Linked DNA regions of Homo sapiens: region 1 is linked to region 2. The links are contacts of gene promoters, found by promoter capture Hi-C in blood cells and fetal thymus (Javierre and others, 2016). All regions are on one chromosome and are shown on one strand. The core of a region is centred on a gene start or on the middle of the fragment in contact, and the rest is flanking DNA. Distances in the headings are between cores, read along the strand shown.

Region 1 (2,738 bases), core at 1-2,500, about 12 Mb before region 2:
GGGCAAATCAGGAGCAGCCAGCTGAGAAGCCAGTCATTTTGCCTTCCTCCTGGAGGCCCAGAAAAGGAGTGCAGTTGCCACAGCAGGTCTGTCCCAGTGATGCCCTTGGCAGAGCCACATAGGGTCAGGGAATATTCCCGAGTAAGGCGTCTGGAGAAGGAACTGGGGTGTCCTCAGGGAAGCCCAGGCAAGGAACTTCCCACAGGTCATCTTTCATGCCCTGTGTGCCTCAGCAGAATACAGGGCTCCCTCCTGTACCTGCCCCCAACAGCACCGTCTCCTGGAGACAAGGCCGTTCTGCAGCTGCCCTCCTCTGTTTGCTCTGGTCTGTCCCACGTGGCCAGCAGATCCTTCTCCCACAAACATTTCCATAAAAGCAATCAGCACGACATAATTTTATTGGGCACTGGAGAGGCGGGGGTCACAGAGAAAGGATCATAGCACGCAATAGAAAACAGGAAGCAATTTGCTTGAGGTCACTCTCAAAATTTCCTTGACCATTCCTGGGGATTTCTCACTGGATGTTTTCTTCCGTGGCCACAGTGTCCACTGTCTCACTCTCCCACTTTTCCCTCCCTGCAGTCTTTTCTCTACAGGGTCCCAAGACTGTTGTCAAGCTGCTATGGATGACCCCCAAGTCTTTCCCATCTACTCTAATTCAAGGGGACTTAACTCTCACAACCAATATGAACTTTGGGATATTTTCTTCAACAAAAAACTAACATCCCTCTTATAAAAAATCAGCCTAAACTCTCCCCCGTGCTTTAAAAAACTTGCTTAAAAAAACACAACAGGATTTTCGAAGAATCCTTTCTTAGAAAACAAACAAAAAAACCAAACAAAAACGTACTTTCTCCCCACTATGCTGAATCTGCTCTCTCCCTCTTTCCTTCTTTCTCTTCTCCCTCCCTCATCCACCAAGCATGGTTCCAGGAAACACTAGTAAGAGAAAAATTTGTGTAAAATCAAATTTATTTCAGGGGCTAATTCTGAAGTCTCCCATGAAGAGGATGCAATATTGGATGTGTTGATGAAAAGACAAAACACATTTGTGCTGTTCTAAGTTGTAAAGCTGCATTGACTGCAGTTGGTATCACATGTGGCTGCCTGTAAAAGAGCTAACAATTCATGAATGTCAACAGATGTCAACTTACAGAGCTCCCAACCAGGTGAAATTAAATTTCATCCCCATGTAATTTCTCTTGTGGACAAGAGACTTAGAGATCATCAGGCCAATATTTGGAGCTTCTAATGCCATGACTCAGCCTTACTTTTTTTAAGGGCTAGTTCGAGAAGCTCAATGATTCCTTTGAAATTGGTTGATCTCTCAGTATTTCATAATGCTCTCCTAAAGCTCAGTTCTACAGTAGGGAACTCGAGCTGAGGCAATGCTCTGTGAATACACTTCTAACTTTTGTAGACCTTTGCTTCCTCCAAAATGTTTATTGTCAATGTAGATCTTAAATTTCAGGTCATGGATATTTGCCATTGCTTTTTTAGTCCCAAAGGATGCATTTGTTCCTTCCTCTTTCCTTCCTCTCTGGAAGGAAGCCTGCAGCCATGTCAAATGGCCCATCATTACACAAATCTGGAATGAACCGGACGTGGAGGCCACCGCAGTATAGCAAAGCATTTCTCTTGCAGACAATCAAATACAGGTGGCATCATTTTGATGATGTCTGCTTTCTCAATCTTTTTTTCCAGATGGGTATTATGTTTGGTTGGGCTATGTCTCTGGAACACTATTTTTCTGCCTCTCTGCCTGCAAAATTCTTACTCTGTTTATGAAGCAGACAGAAAGTACTTCTCTAGGAAGCCTTCTCCACCTCTGGGATGGAACTGGTCTCTCTGTTTCCTCTGGGCCCTGACAGTACCTTAAGCACACTGTGTGATAATCCAAACTCTTCAAGTATTGCATAGCTATTCAGAGCCTGGTTCATCTTGTCCCTAGGCTGTTTTGGGAGGACCCCAAGGCTGCATCCAGGCTCAGTGGTGGAAACAATTCTGCAACAGATTGAGGATGTCACCCTAGGTGCCACAGAGGGGAGCAATGGCACAGGTGCTGAGTATCTGTCATCTTTTGCAGAACACTTACTAAATATTTGAAGAGTGCTTAACAAGTGACAGCAATTGACAAGCATTTTCCTGAGTGCTCTAACCTTAGGGAACACTAGCTGCCAGGTTTTTTTGCTGCCTTGTTTCTACGCTGCCCTATACCCTCCCGGGGTGGGTAGTTCACCAGATGCAGTTGTAACTGAAGCAATGCCAGTCCCTCCACACTCAAAGCCTTTTGTTCCTATCATAAAGAGTCAGGGTCTTCAAGTATGTCAACAGTATGAGCCCATGACCTGGATACCAGGTTGCTGGAAGTCAAGGGATGCTCTGCATGTCTAGGAGGTGCTGGCTCTGCCACGTCAGCACCAAGGAGAAAAGAATCCTCTTTACATGGCTGCTGATGAACTTCTCACTGAAAGCAGCTCAATATCCGTTTTTCCGTCCCAATCAAAGCGTGTCTCGCCTTCTCACAGCTTGAGGCTACCGTTTTGACATGGTCTCGCTTCCTGTTTACACCACAGGAAGCGAGAGAGCTGCTGCCACTGCTGCTACCACAGGAAGACACAGCAGGGAGAAGCCCTAGTGCCTCTGCCGGCTGCCCAGGACCTGGTATCGGCCCACAGACCAAGTCCTCCACAGAGGGCGAGCCAGGGTGGAGAAGAGCCAGCCCAGGTAAGCTTTCA
Region 2 (3,071 bases), core at 1-2,500:
AGAGAGCTACCTCTTTTTTTTTTCCCCATCCATTTCAGGAAAGTTTAGGTTTTCATTTTTTTCCTATGGTCTTCTTAGAGTTGTTTCCACGTTAAAGTAGGAAGAAGTAACGAAAAAAAAGTGAGATTTGCCGAAAGCAAATGAAACTTGTTTTGCCTGGTTCTCTGGAAGGAGGTTGAAAAGGTAGACTATGATTTTTCAGGTTCAAACTGCTACTCTAACAAACATTGTCCTACAGGGTGGAATCCAGTCAACCGGTATTGAGATTGATTCGCTAAGGCCTCAGGACACTGGACATTCTTTTTAATTGTTTTTTTTGATTTCCATGACGACAGCTCACAAGACACTAGACATTCTTTTAGGCTCTCAGGTAAATGCGCAACAGGCAGTCTACAAATCCACAAATAAATCGCATCTCAACTCGGATACTGGGGCTAGGGAATGTGCTGATGGTAAAACCATTGGTCCTGACTGTGTGACCTTCATGGAAGGCCTGGGTGCTTAGAACAAATATTTTGAGGATATGGCTGCTTGCCCAAGGGCTGTGGGCCTGTATCTTGTTTGCTCATCATCCTGTCAGTCATTTTTTTCTTTCCCTTTTTTTAAAGACAAAATCTGAACCTAGAAACACCGAAGCCAGAGCTTTTTCTAGACGCGAATCCACTATTTGTGCGACCCTGCACTAACCATTCTAGCCTGGCCTAGACCATACCAGGAACCCTCCAGCTAGCCTGGAGGGGTCCGCACTGCGGGGAAAAAAGCAACAGCTCAGCTCCAACCCCAAAGGTTCCATCACCAGCCAATCGTGGCCCGGGGCTTCTCAAGAAAACCAGAAACGCCTACGGACAGTGAATGGCACTAAGGCCAGCCTATCCGCACGAAGGAGGCGGAAGGGGTGGTGTTGAAATTAACCAATAGAATGGAAGAAGTTGTTGTTGGGAGGGAGGAAGACGCCAGCTAACGTGCGTGAGGCCGCTCCCGGATAGGGGATGCAGGAAGCTCGTGGAGCCAATGGCCGCGGCGGGCGGGCGGCGGCGCGCGTGCGCGTTGGCCCCCGGGCCTGCGGGCGGGAGGCGGGGATGGTGGGGGAGGGGAGCGGGCTGGAGCGCGGCGGAGCTCCTGCCGCCGCCGCAGCCGCTGCCGCCGCAGCGAAGAGGCCATGTTGTGTGGTGTGTGGGGCGGGGGGAGGAGGAGGAGGGAGTAAAGCCTAGAGAGGAGACGGGAGAGAGACACCACACACACGGCACAAGATGGCCGGAGAGGCAGCAGCACCCCGAGCTGTCAGGCGTTCCGCCGCGGCCGCGAGGCCCGCCGGCCGGCGGGGAGCTACGCCCGGACGGCCAGCAGGCCCGCGGGAGTGGGGCTGCCGCGGCTGAGGCGAGGCGGGCCGCGCGCGTCGGCGTCACAGCCCGCGGCAGAGGCGCCCAGGGCGGCCGGGCCCACGACGCCGAAAGCGCCGCTGCGGTTGCCGCCTCGGAGGCTCCCCCGGGCCCCGGCGGCTGGACCCGGCGCGGGCGGGAGGCTCGGGCGGGCGGTCCGGCCCGGGACTCGGGTTTGGGCGACCAGGAGGTGCCGGTGGCCGCGCTCGGACCCGGTGAGTGGCTCCCTAGCTCCTTTTATTGTCCTTTGTCCTTGGGAGGAAAAGCAAAATGTCCTTGAGCGCGCGAGCAGGAGGGGGCGGCGGGCCGGGCCTCGCCGCTCGGCTCTTCTCGCACTGCCCCTCCGTGGTCGGGGGCCGGCTCTCGCCGGCGGGATGCGCCTCGGTGCCCTGGGCCCGAGTCGTAGGGTCCTGGGGTAGGGGGCACGCGGGGCCCCGCTGCAGAGCCCGCGGGCGGCAGGTGGGCGGGGGGCAGCCTCGTCGCCGGGACTGGATCCGCCGGGAAAGGGGCGGCGGGTGAATGCCGGCGAGAGCCCGAAGGGGATCGGGCGTGGAGAGCCCCTTTCTGTCCTGGTGAGTTATTTTGATATTTAGGGTAAAAAAATCCCTTTCAGGTTCTCCAACGGAGGAGCTTTTTAACCTCTTTCCGGTGAGGTGGGAACTCATCTTCATGATCGAATTTAAAAGAACAATGGAACCCTGACTACGTTTCAACAAAAATAAAACTTGTTTTTTTCCCTCCTATTGGGTGTTGGCTTTTAACTCTTTCAAAGCCGATTTTGAAACGGCTGCAGTGATACATGCGAAGGTACTTGCTGCTTATTAAACCTTTATGACGTTAAGGTTGTCTTTGAAAAATGCAAGTTGGAGGAGTGCTTCTGGTATTTCAGAATTACGAAGACAAGTTTACTGTGTCGTCAAGGCTGTTTAATGGAAATAGATTTGATAATTACGGTGCTAGCTAGCTGATGACGTTTGGTTAATGTAGTTTATTTTACCGAGTAATGACGCCAAGATCATTTGATCTCCTGATATTTAAATATGATTAAATACACTGTTTGGTACTTTTTAAAAAGGTCTCAAGGAGCCGTTATCTGCAACTTCTCACACCTGAATGTTAGAACGTACTTGGGTCAATTCCTAGTCTTTAAAAGTTCATAATTTAATTATTTTTAAGAATTTATATTATCACAAGCCATGATCGAAAAACTTTCACAAAAGAACATTCTGACACCAAATCTCTTCCTGAAGTTACTTTCTCGTAATGTAAATATGAATAAAGTAGGACTGCTCTCGGTAATGGGCGATGAAGAGGAGCCATATTTGTTGCATTTGTTGCATGTATAAAAATCTAGATATGCTTAAAACGGAACAGTATTTTAAAAGTACAGGTTTCATAAAATTTAGTAGAGTTCTCTGTATAGTCTCTAATCTTAGAAAAATGTTGGAAGGGTAATTTTTAAGTGTAGTGGTTTGAAGAACAAACCAGAAGCGCACAAACCTTTGTGTATTTTAGAATATATTTGTCTTCATTCTGCGGAGCTCTTGTGTTGTAAAGGTGCAGAACTACGTAAAAATAGTGTTGGGCAGACTTACATAGTACATCTGAAATCAGATACTGGTTTATTCGACCATATTTCTAAGGGCATTTTTCCAGTAAAATTGTTTTATTTTTTGAGTAGCCTTCCTATAG

Evidence for each region. The method cuts DNA at HindIII sites, captures the fragments that hold promoters and counts their contacts. A CHiCAGO score of 5 or more calls a contact.
Region 1: a fragment that was not itself captured here is called in contact with the fragment with the promoter of CHASERR in region 2 in 1 of 17 cell types (total CD4 T cells); the score reaches 5.9 in total CD4 T cells.

Annotation. Positions count from the first base shown.
Region 1 is chr15:81,294,352-81,297,089 of GRCh38, forward strand. It overlaps IL16 (interleukin 16), which reads left to right. Exons shown (of 19, transcript NM_172217.5): 13 at 2,577-2,727. Among named protein-coding and RNA genes, the nearest start is that of STARD5, 28 kb to the right of the region's middle. RefSeq lists an enhancer at 2,280-2,738. The HindIII fragment of the contact is 2,959 bases long and covers 1-2,730 here.
Region 2 is chr15:92,881,593-92,884,663 of GRCh38, forward strand. CHASERR (CHD2 adjacent suppressive regulatory RNA) reads left to right here and starts at 1,251. Exons shown (of 6, transcript NR_037601.1): 1 at 1,251-1,594; 2 at 1,993-2,186. RefSeq lists enhancers at 578-667, 1,093-1,734 and silencers at 978-1,107, 1,728-1,977. The HindIII fragment of the contact is 7,161 bases long and covers 1-3,071 here.